Linked DNA regions of Homo sapiens: region 1 is linked to region 2. Evidence: promoter capture Hi-C in human tissues and cell types (Jung and others, 2019). All regions are on one chromosome and are shown on one strand. Each heading gives the region's core, a stretch centred on a gene start or on the middle of the fragment in contact. The rest is flanking DNA. Distances are from core to core; before and after follow the strand shown.

What was found. The method cuts DNA at HindIII sites, captures the fragments that hold promoters and counts their contacts. A contact is called where the count stands out against the background at its distance.
Region 1: a contact is called between a fragment that was not itself captured here and the fragment with the promoter of F2R in region 2, in 1 of the 25 tissues and cell types used here (H1 embryonic stem cells).

What each region holds. Positions count from the first base shown.
Region 1 is chr5:76,872,712-76,878,767 of GRCh38, forward strand. It overlaps S100Z (S100 calcium binding protein Z), which reads left to right. Exons shown (of 5, transcript NM_130772.4): 3 at 2,593-2,789; 4 at 4,963-5,123. The coding sequence starts at 2,649. The coding sequence ends at 5,121. Among named protein-coding and RNA genes, the nearest start is that of S100Z, 26 kb to the left of the region's middle. The HindIII fragment of the contact is 9,432 bases long and covers 1-6,056 here.
Region 2 is chr5:76,713,235-76,719,246 of GRCh38, forward strand. F2R (coagulation factor II thrombin receptor) reads left to right here and starts at 2,892. Exons shown (of 2, transcript NM_001992.5): 1 at 2,892-3,161. The coding sequence starts at 3,074. RefSeq lists a silencer at 2,698-2,947 and enhancers at 4,741-5,241, 5,242-5,742. The HindIII fragment of the contact is 3,629 bases long and covers 769-4,397 here.

The DNA.
Region 1 (6,056 bases), core at 1,381-3,880, 160 kb after region 2:
GCATTTTGGGAGGCCAAGGCAGGCGGATTGCGTGAGCTCAGGAGTTCAAGACCAGCCTGGGCAACATGGCAAAACCCCATCTCTACTACAAATACAAAAATAAAAATAAAAATTAGCCAGGCATGGTGGTGTGAACCTGTAGTCCCAGCTACTTGGGAGGCTGAGATGGAAGAATTGTCTGAGCCCAGGAGGTCGAGGCTGCAGTGAGCTGTGATGGCACCACTGCACTCCAGCCTGGGCAACCAGAGTCAGACCTTGCCTCAAAAATAATAATAAATAAATAAATAAAATAAATATTGTATAGAGTTTGTTTTTTCCATTCTGAGTAGGTGCTATGGTCATCCCCATTTAGACTAATGGGGAAAATGCAGCATAGATGCTAATTGACCAGCACAGGATCACACAACTAGTGGCAGAGGTGAGAGGTAAAGCCAGGCAGTTCATGCTTTTAGCCACCATGATACTGCCTCCCACACAGGAAAAATTTACAAAGGGTAATTACTAGGGTAGGGAATGGTGAGAGAGAATTTTACTATTTCATACTCCTAAGTATTCAAAATATTATTTTACCTATATTACTTTGACAATAAAAACTAACAATTTTTTTTTTTTTTTTGAGACGGAGTCTCACTGTCACCCAGGATGGAGTGCAGGGACGTGATCTTGGCTCATTGCAACCTCCACCTCCTGGGTTCAAGCAATTCTCCTGCCTCAGCCTCCCGAGTAGCTGGGACTACAGGCGTGCACCACCATATCCAGTTAATTTTTGTATTTTTAGTAGAGACAGGGTTTCACCATTTTGGTCAGGGTGGTCTCGAACTCCTGACCTCAAGTGATCTGCCTCCCAACGTGCTGGGATTACAGGATTGAGCCACTGTGCCCAGCCTGAATATGTTTGAAAATTTTGTGTTAGGTGTACAGTGAACACCTCCTGGGAACCTTGCAGGGAGGTTGCAGTGGAGTAGCCAGGCAGCAAGGCCAGGGGCAGATGGGATGGTTGAGGTTACATACTGACTACTTTGTTGAAGGGAAATAAAAAGGAGATCCTGGCTTGCTTTCCGTATAATTAAGTTTCAGTCCTGAGAGAACAGGCAGGATTTAAAAGCACAGTGGCCAATATCTGGCTTTGGTTTTTACATGGACTCTTTCTTTATTAAGTTTCTCTCACTTGGAAATCTGTTGTGGATTCCTGCACACACAGCTGCTCTGAGGTTTATTTCAACTTTTTTATTAGGTAATACATTCCTATAACTGAAAAAGTTAAAATCACTTAAAAAGGTGTACACTGGGAAGTCTTACTCCCAACCACTCTGTTCTACCCTTTCCCCCCTTACCCCTGACAGCTCCCAACATAGTATTATATTTTGTTTCCTTTCAGTGACTCCTTAGGTAACTGCAAGCACACATACACATGTATTATTTCTTTTTTACACAGTTGGGAGCACTGCTTTGTACCTTTCTAAATCAGTGCGTGGAGCACTTCCTCTTTTTTTTTTTTTTTCAACTGTCCTTTGGGTTAGTTTAATCTACTATGAATTTACTCCCTTGTCCTTGCTATTGGCTTTGCTGAGTCATCTCCAGGTTGGAACTAGTGTTTCTTCTTTGCTCCCCTATTTTTAGAGTTCTTCCCCATCATCAGCTTCCTAGCAACTAATTGCATTTCTATCCACACTCCCCTAAAGAGAGATAAGGCTTCCTCTTGCTTTGTCTTTGCCTTCTTATCTAATGCACCCAATGAGCACTAGCCTTCTTCAATGACCCTTGGGGCAGCAGCTCACACCTGTTCATTTTGGTGATTAAATACGGAGCAGAGGCACCTCCCTTTGAATCTCTTGTCACTGGCAATTTTCATCTTCCCGGAAACAGGTGTGCTGGGGAGAACGTTTCCCCCTCCCCCACGTATAAATGCTTATAGTTTAATGGTAAACAACCATTGACAGAGCTGTGTATCTGTTGAACAGGTAGGTATTTTCCTTCCTATTTTTATTTATTTTTAAATTCTATATTTTAGTTTGACTTTGTACCTGTTACCTGGTTGTCTTATGAATATGCTGGAGCTGCTACCTCTTGGGGGTGTAGGGATTAGCGAGGAGAAACAACTCAGCTGCGAAGTGCTTATTTGCAGCTTGCCCCAGCAAGGGTGGAACACTCTTTAATGAAAGACTATTATTATTATTAATTTTTTTTTTTTGAGACGGCGTCTCGCTCTGTCGCCCAGGCTGGAGTGCAGTGGCGCGATCTCGGCTCACTGCAAACTCCGCCTCCCGGGTTCACGCCGTTCTCCTGCCTCAGCCTCCTGAGTAGCTAGCTGGGACTACAGGCGCCCGCCGCCGCGCCCGGCTAATTTTTTTTTGTATTTTTAGTAGAGACGGGGTTTCACCGTGTTAGCCAGGATGGTCTCGATCTTCTGACCTTGTGATCCACCCATCTCTGCCTCCCAAAGTGCTGGGATTACAGGCTTGAGCCACCGCGCCTGCGCAGACTATTATGTTTTTAACAACCATCACTTGTGTGGCGAGCTGACTCGGGGGATTGTAATATTCTGTTTTAATGAAAGTGTTGGTGTTTCCTCATCTGTTTATTCTGAACAAGTGTCTTCTCCCCGGGTTTGGTGGCCTGCTTCTGGAGTGGTCAGTTCTGCTGCCGACATGCCCACCCAGCTCGAGATGGCCATGGACACCATGATTAGAATCTTCCACCGCTATTCTGGCAAGGAAAGGAAGAGATTCAAGCTCAGCAAGGGGGAACTGAAACTGCTCCTGCAGCGAGAGCTCACGGAATTCCTCTCGGTGAGTCAGGCCTTTGTAAATGCTGTATTCATTTGAGGGTAGATGAGGTGCAGATTCCAGGACAGCCTTTGGGTTCATACTGTCCTGTGATTCTGTCACAAATGCAGCCAAATTTGTACAGAGATTCAAAATATAGGGGAAGCAAACACTGGAGACGTTTGTTTTCTGTGTACATAGGCATGTGCCCTTTTTCGTGTTACCTGGGGTTAGGGTTTCTAAGTGGTAAAAATTGTATTTTTGACTTTCACCAATTAACATTCTGGTGCGGCAAAGATGTAGCTAATTATAGCCAGAGTTATAGTTATAACTAGTTACAGCTAGTTATACCTGGAGCTTGGTCCAGCTGTCTGTAAATTATGTATTGGGCCAGAGGTGAAGGGGTACTTTACCTTCAGAGGTGGGGTACTTCATGCTATGGTGGCAAATTTTCTAGTGAATGGCAAATACTTAGAGAGCTTTGTCAGCCGAGCACAGACTGATTGGGATTGATAGAAGGATGTGTTTGGCCAGTGACCAGTGGGGTAGCAAACAGATTCATTTCTCAAAATAGCCAGGAGTTTGAGAGATTAATATATGAAGCCGTACATTGTAGCGTTTGGGGCCTCCTCCAAGGAAAACACTTCACGCTGGTGTTTATAGAGTTGACTTAAACTGATTTTTAGCACAATATGCTACCCTCGTGTGATGTTATTCTCTCCAAACCTTGTGTTAAGACTACAGAGACTGTTAATTACAACACATGTTTCTCCCCACCCTCTATTTGGGAAAAGCTCTATAAAGTATTTTTTAACTTAGTCTTCACGACATTTTTATAGTGATCTTAGAATTCCCACAAACTTTTCTTTTCCTCTCATTCCGTTTGGCTACTGTATTTTTTTTTTTTTCGGAGATGGAGTCTTGCTGTGTCTCCTAGGCCGGAGTGCAGTGACACGATCTCGGCTCACTGCAATCTCCACCTCCCAGGTTCGAGTGATTCTTGTGCCTCAGCCTCCGGAGTAACTGGGATTACAGGCATGCACCACGACACCCAGCTAAGTTTTTTGTATTTTTAGTAGAGACAGAGTGTCACTATGTTGGCCAGGCTGGTCTCGAACTCCTGACCTCAAGTGATCTGCCTGCCTCGGCCTCCCAAAGTGCTGAGATTACAGGCGTGAGCCACTGTGTGGGGCCAACTTTGGCTACTGTACTGTTTAACATTTAGCATAAAAACTCAGTAGGTCAAACTTCGCACATTTATTTAATCAAGTACAATTTATAATTGTTTTAATCAAGTTGGTTTTGATCAATTAAGTTTTTCTCTGACCATTTAATGGTTAGCAGAAAATGAGGGGGGCATGGGGATTTCCTGGAGGAAATGAACTGCTTTTGGAAACACTCCTCATCAACACCAGTCACAGGAGAGGTGGGTGCTTCACAGTTCCAACCTTCGTGAACCTTGTCTTCCCTCTTCTCTTTGCTTTCCACCCATAAAATGCAGGCATCTTTATAAGACCTACCTTTCTTTGGGTGCCTCTCTTCTGTGTGTCAGGCACACTGTGCTAAGTAGGCTGCCAGATAAAATATTTTGTGTCCTATACAATACTTGAGACATACTAAAACTAAAAGTTATTTGTTGTTTATTTGAAATTCAAATTTAACTAGGTATCTAGTATTTTTATTTGCTAAATCTAGCGACCCTGGTGCTCTAAGCACTTTCAAAAGTGTGATGAAGTATCCCTGAAATGTGTGGATAGAAATTATCCTCCCAATTTTATAAATAAAAGCATTTAAAATGTTACGCGATTTGCTCAAATTCGCTCGTTGGTATTTTTCTCCTTTTTGGCTTCAAATCCTCCCTCTTTCTATGTCACTCGACTATCTCCTAGTGTCCTGGCTCTCAACCTGTGATGTCCTGTAAATGTGTTTTTAGCAACAGTCACTCACTTTGATCAGCTGCTGTTTGCTTTTCTTGGTTTCTAGGTCTGAGCCAGGATTATATGGAGCTGGGGCAGGGGGCTAGATTCGTTTAGAATTCGTGGCTGGTTTACACCTACCTGTAAATAGGTTCTTAGAAAATGTCTTTAGATGCTATAAATGGAAATTAGGAATTTAATGTAAATAAAAGGAAGATGAATTTCAATTGTCATCATGAACCTCAGAGCCAGGGAGTTAGAAATTTCCTTTCTCATTTTAGTGCCAAAAGGAAACCCAGTTGGTTGATAAGATAGTGCAGGACCTGGATGCCAATAAGGACAACGAAGTGGATTTTAATGAATTCGTGGTCATGGTGGCAGCTCTGACAGTTGCTTGTAATGATTACTTTGTAGAACAATTGAAGAAGAAAGGAAAATAAAGGTAAGTAATAAGCTCATCTAAAGGCAGAAATATATCCAAAGTTATGTACTTAATGTTCATTTATACCGTTCAGATCTATAGACCCAGTAATGTCATTTATAGCTATAATATCCAGTGCATATATTAATAATTAATTGCTACTATTGAATTATGTGCCCCTTAAAATATTGACTTTATGTAGATATTCTAAATCTCATATGCCCTACTTGAAACTTGCCTGTATTATTAAGAGGCTATATGCATCTTTTTGGTTTGTCAAAACGAGGGCATTACAAAAATTTAGCTACTTTCAAATGAGACTTGAATTTGGCAAATTTCTAAGATGGACATTCATATCCTTAAATTGTATTTTGAACTTCTTACCCTATTAAAAAAAATTAACTGGGTTTCCTCATTCTCTTGTGACTGTGTTTCAGATGGAAGGTGTGAGGGTCTATGAGCAGAAAGGCGGCTAAGCAGAAGTGCTGGCTTTTTCAGTGATTTCGTCAGGGAATGGATAGGTTCAGGGCTAGGTGGTCAAGCCGAGAGAGCTGAAGCCAGCAGCTCTTGTGAGCTGGCATATAAATACCCTCCTTTGCCCCTTGGGTTGGATAATTCTGAGGCAAGTGTTTGACACTATTTCCCACTGTTTCCCCCTGGGGCTGAGCCTCGGTAGGCCCCAAGGGAGGCCACCTTTTCTTCCTTATCTCACTTTCCTGCTCCAACCCTGAGTTTTCTGCATCTCTCAAATAAATGACTTCTACACGAACCCTGGCCTCAGGGTCTCCCTCTTGGGGAACCCAAACTATGATAGATCCTTTGGAGAATTTTAAGAAAGGGAGTGATATGATTATATTTATGCGTGTAAATGATTACCCTAACTACTGTGTAAAGAAAGGACTATAGAGATGGCAATCGTGGCAGGCAACCAGCTAGGAGGTTGTTGCTGTGGTC
Region 2 (6,012 bases), core at 1,642-4,141:
CTCTGCCTCCCAGGTTCAAGTGATTCTCCTGCGTCAGCCTCCCAAGTAACTGGGATTACAGGTGCACACCACCAAGCCCGGCTAATTTTTGTATTTTTAGTAGAGACGGAGTTTCTCTATGCTGGCCAGGCTGGTCTCTAACTCCTGACCTCAAGTGATTTGACCGCCTCAGTTTCTCAAAGTGCTGGGATTACAGGTGTGAGCCACTGCACCCAGCCTTCATTGTACGTCTTTTTGTCACTAGAGGTACATTTTGTTCTAACAACTAAGACCCCAAAGCATCCTTTTAAGCTTTATCGTTTTGTAAAATGGTTAAAAATAACATTTTCCACCAATGACACAGATAAAATTTTAAAATGTGGTGGTATTATTCCATTCTTATTTTAAGGATATACATATATGCAATTTGTATGTGGATATGATTTTTTGAATGGTGAACAGAAACTTAGTGGTCAGGTAGCTGGATGCGGTGGCTCATGCCTGTAATCCCAGCACTTTGGGAGGCTAAGGCGGGTGGATCACCTGAGTTCAGGAGTTTGAGGCCAACCTGGCCAATATGGTGAAACCCAGTCTCTACTAAAAATACAAAAAATTAGCCAGGCGCGGTGGTAGGCGCCTGTAATCCCAAGTACTCGGGAGGCTGAGGCAGGAGAATCGCTTGAACCCAGGAGACGGAGGTTGCTGTGAGCCGAGTCCGCGCCATTGCACTCCAGCCTGGGCAACAAGAGTGAAACTCCGCCTCAGGAAAAAAAAGAAAGAAAGAAAATAAGAAAGACAGAGAGAGAGAGAGAGGAAGGAAGGAAGAGAGGAAGGAAGGAAGGAAGAGAGGGAGGGAGGAAGGAAGGAAGGAAGGAAGGAAGGAAGGAAGGAAGGAAGGAGGGGAAACTTAGTGGTCAGATGGCAACTAGGGGAGGGGAGGCAGAAGGTAATTTATTTTTCATTTCATATCCTTCAACTATCAGAAATTTTGTCATATGTGTTTATATTTTCCACTGTGTTTCATTGATTCTAAAATGCCTTTTCTTCATAACCCTGAAATTGGAGTGTTTCTTACAATCATTGGTATGTCACATTTTTTTCTGGCTTGTGGTAATGGGTTAAAATGATAAATTGTAAAATCAATGACGTCTTAGGAATAATGAAAAATAGTTTAATAGTGAATGAAGAACTATGTAATTTTAACTGTTCACATTTACTCTTGGGTATGTTTCCAGAGGATAACTGAACGGGGATAGATTTTAAAAAGCTTTATTTAACTGGGTACTTCCGCAATTTAGTGATCAACTTCTGTGTACAACAAGGTACTGTCCTTTGAGGATGATGGGAGAATACAGGGAAGAACGAAATCGCCTCTGATCGTACTTTCTCCACGGATGTAAGTGTCCGGGCTCTAGTGGGGGAATGATACTCTTCGTGCGAAATTCACTTTTAAAAAAGGCTTAGAAAACTGACCACCGGCTCTCAGCTGCAGCTTATCAACCACAGAACTCCGAATATGCCCGCACATCAGTGCGCTGGGTTAAGAGGAGAAGGGGCTGCGGCTGAGCTTTCCTAGAAACAGCTATTTGGGGACCCATTTCCTGTTGGAGTCTGAAAGGCGCACGCACCAGAGCCAGTGGCAAAGCAACTTAAGCTGCAGGCTCCTCCTGCCCACCCCCAGCCGCGACGCCCCTGGGGGCCCTTAGCAGACTGCCAAGCGAGTGTCCCCGCCCTGTGCCTTGAATTTAGCCAAACTCCTTTAATATCAGGCCTGGCGCGGTGATTCACGCCTGTAATCCCCGCACTTTAGGAGGCTGAGGCAGGAGGATCGCTTGAGGCCAGCAGTGAAATTAGCCGGACATGGTGGCGCGCGCCTTTCTGTGGTCCCAGGTAATCCGGAGGCTGGGGCGAAAGGGTGGCCTGAGCCAGGGAGATCGAGGCTGCAGTGAGCCGTGTTGGCGCCACTGCACTCCAGCCTGGGCGACAGGGCAAGACCCTGCCTCAAAAACAAAACAAACTGTAATATCGTTCAAGAACGTGTGAAGGACACTTGGAAAGTTACCAGGCCATTTCTCTCCTGGGCGCCCGCGGCCCTAGAACGCCGGCCTCACCGGCAGACGCGCGCCCTCCTCCCAGATGCGCAGGTGACCCCGGCGGGCGGCGCGGGAAAGGGAAGAGCTCCGCGAGGCCGCGCGGGGGGGAAGCGGGAGAAGCCGCTCTTCCTATTCCACTCGCAGTCTGCGTGTGGGGGAAACGAGTGCCCGGCGTATGAAACGCCTAACTTCGCGAAATAAAGAGAGACGTATAAAAGTTCAAGAATTCTGTCCAGACTCAAGGGCCCTTTCTCATTTAGGGGCAACCCTGTCACTACATCATAAACTTTTAAATCCGTGATCCCCACGTTACAAAAGCAGAAGTCCCTTTTAGACTTTTAGCGAAAACTGAACTTTGCCGGTGTCCCACACGGAGGGAGGGAGGACGGGAGGCCACGCCAGGGCTGCGGGGCTGCAGGGCGTGGACGCATCCTGGCCGGGGCGTCCACTGTCGACGTCTCCACATCCCAGGAGGGTCGAGACGGCCGCGGGAAGCAGCCTGCGAGCCGTGCGGCCCCATTCCAAGGACCCCGCCAGTGTGAGTCACTGACAGCTTCGCGAATCAACGGTGCCCAGAGGAAAAAACTTCTCATTTGGACTTCTAGGCCCGGCAGTGGCCGGCGGCCAGGGCCCCCCAGTAGGGCAGGGCGGGGCGGGGCGGGGCGCACAGAGCCAGAGGGGCTTGCGAGCGGCGGCTGAGGGACCGCGGGGAGGGGGCGCCGAGCGGCTCCAGCGCAGAGACTCTCACTGCACGCCGGAGGGCGCCCTTCCTCGCTCGCGCCCGCGCGACCGCGCGCCCCAGTCCCGCCCCGCCCCGCTAACCGCCCCAGACACAGCGCTCGCCGAGGGTCGCTTGGACCCTGATCTTACCCGTGGGCACCCTGCGCTCTGCCTGCCGCGAAGACCGGCTCCCCGACCCGCAGAAGTCAGGAGAGAGGGTGAAGCGGAGCAGCCCGAGGCGGGGCAGCCTCCCGGAGCAGCGCCGCGCAGAGCCCGGGACAATGGGGCCGCGGCGGCTGCTGCTGGTGGCCGCCTGCTTCAGTCTGTGCGGCCCGCTGTTGTCTGCCCGCACCCGGGCCCGCAGGCCAGGTGAGAGATGCACGGGAATGGGGTGCGCGGGCGGAGGGACGCCGAGGGGAGACTGCGGGGGTCACTGTTGCGCCTTCTCCTCACCCCTGCCTCAGTTTCCTCCGAAAGCCAAACTGGCATTTGGGCTGAGATCTGGAGTTTTTTCCAGTCACGTTTAGGTGGGGCGTGCCACCCCCTTCGCGGGCCCAGCCGATGCCCCTTTGGACTCGATCTTGGAGGGTGCAGCCCGCCTGCCACGGGGTGTTGGATATGGAGGAGGATGGAGCGGAAGCCCCCTGGGGGAGCCTGCAGTCCTGCGTTGCACTTGTCATTGTGTTTCTCCCAGGACCACCCCCAAAAAGAAAAGCTCTCACGTTGCTCCACCAATAAACGTTTCGATCTTTAAAATATAAAGTGGCGAACCGCTGCCGCTGAAGTTTTGCTTTGTTGGAAGTTTTTTTCTTGCACATTTTACAGGCGAGAAAAGTGATGTAGAGAAAAGCCCAGGCAGTCCCTTGGCATGTTTAGCAGAGAATCAGTACCAGCAGCCCCCGGCCCGGCCTTGTGTCCAGGAGGTGCGCAGGGTGCGAGATATATGGTGACAATAGCAGAGGCTCCGCGTGGTGGCGGGGGAGGGGACATGGAGAGGATTTTGTTGTTACCTAGAACCCATTCCTTCTAAGTGAGTTGAAGAGAGAGATCCCTCCCCAGGACCGGGCTCCCTCGAACACTGTGGGATCCCAGTATTTCTTAACGAGATTTCTGATCCACTGCAAGAAGGTTGCTCCCCTAGAATATTTTCCCCACTAGTAGTCTATTTTTAAGTATCTGGCCACTTGACCAAATAAATAAATTTGATTAATTTATTTGGTCAAATATTTTCTGTATCCCTTTCCCCAAGAGCAGCACAGATGAGTTGTTTTTAGCCTGTAAAGGCGCTAATTAGAAAGTGAGAAAAGTGTTTTTGAATTTCCTAATAACAATAGTATTTTATAAGCTTTGAGCCATTTTTTTTACGCTGAAAGAAGTTCTAGCGGGTTTTCTTGTTATCGCTAAAAGAATGTGCACTCTATATTGCTCCCACACTCAAAAAAAAGTGTAGACACATCAAGATTAAGAGGTGACAAAGACATAGCATGTTCTCGCCTCTCTGTCTTTGTTCAGGGTGAGTTTTGAGATGCTTTTGGGAAAACTAAGAGCTCCAGACTGGGGCCCAGTGTTTAGCAGTAACTAGCCTGCCTGCAGATAAGTGAGCATTGTTGCCGAAAGTGTTTGAGAGAACACCGAGAACTCCTGAAAAATTGTTTGCGATGAGATATGATTTCACATACCATTATGTAATTTGCACAATGTAGTTTGAGGACACGCTCTTGAGAATCCAGTGTTTTGTTTGAGATTTGGATCATGGGGTGGAGAACAGAGCTTATAGAAATGCTGCACCCTTTCTCACAGTGGCCTCCCAGCAAGGTGTGTAGCCTCATTAGGGAGTGAAGTCAAAGCGTACTGGTTTCTGCCAAGCTTCTTACATCCTCATGGCAGGAGTGGTGCATGTTAATATGGACAGTGCTGGTGTAGACAGAAAGGCAGGTGGATGAACTTGGCTAGTTTATCAACACTGGATTCTGGAACCACTTTGGGAGGGAAAGAAGAAAGGAGTATGATAGAGGAAAAGGAGCGCTTGCTAAGTGCCATATTCCATGTCAAGCCCTGGGCCAGAAGGAATTTTCACTTGGATTGTCTCATTTCACCTTGTCAAAACACCTTGTTAAGGTGGGTATTTATCCCCTTTTGCTGATTCTGCAACTAAGACCCAGAGACAGCGGCTAAGCAAGTGGTGGCGGGTGGGGCAGGGAAGGGGCAGTCCACCCACCCTGGGTGCAAGCAATTAGGAATAAGTGGGGCTTTGTCTTTAGAAAATTTAAAATCACTAATAAAATCAACCCAAGATAGGTTTACTTTCTATTACCACCATGCATTGACAATTCTAAGCATTGTCTGTCATAAGGTAGTGGTGCTGGGACTCTGAGGCATCCAACAGTGCCTCCCATCCTTGAACCGCCACCGCTGTGATAGAGTTTATTGTCCAGGATTACCAGCTCTGTGTGCCAAGAGGGGCGGTGAAGCCCTCCCAGGGCTGGCCCTGACCACCAAGCTGAGCCTTCCTCCAGCACTTCCCGACTTTTTGTTCCCACTCATTTTGGCATTTCCTGCCTTGTCACTTTGTGTGTGTGTCTCATTCTCCCAACTAAGATTATAAAGTTTTATTTATCCCCATGGTGACTAAAACAAATGTTCACTCAGCAGATAGTTGTTGAGAAATGTGTAAATTCATCAACCAGTTTACATTCGTCTAGACAATTTAAGTGAGATGATATGTGATCATTAAAAGGGCCAACATCCAAGAGTAAAAGGTGATGTTTATAAATTTTATGGGGCTCTAGAGGGTTAAAGTGTTCAAGAATAGCTGGTGGTGACTATGACAGAGAGAACTTGGTGGGCAATTCCACTTGCTACCCTCCTACTCACAGAGTCAAGCCCAATTCTCTGGCATGGAATGAAGTGCTCCTCCCCTTGCAGGAGGGTCCCCAGCCCCTCTCCAGCCATCTCCTATTACTCACCCTCCAGTTCACCCAGCCCCATCCTCTAGATCCTCCCTTCAAGGAGCTATGCTTTCTCTGGCTTCTGTCCGCATGCCACTCCCTCTGGCCAGAATGCCCTCCCCATATCCCATACCCGCCACGTTCATGTTTAATTAAAAACAGCTACCCTCTGTGGAGTACTGACTACAGCTGACATCCTTCTTAGGGACGTTACAATACTATCTTATTTATTTCTCACAACAGCCCTTTGAGTAGATGTCATCCTCATTTTA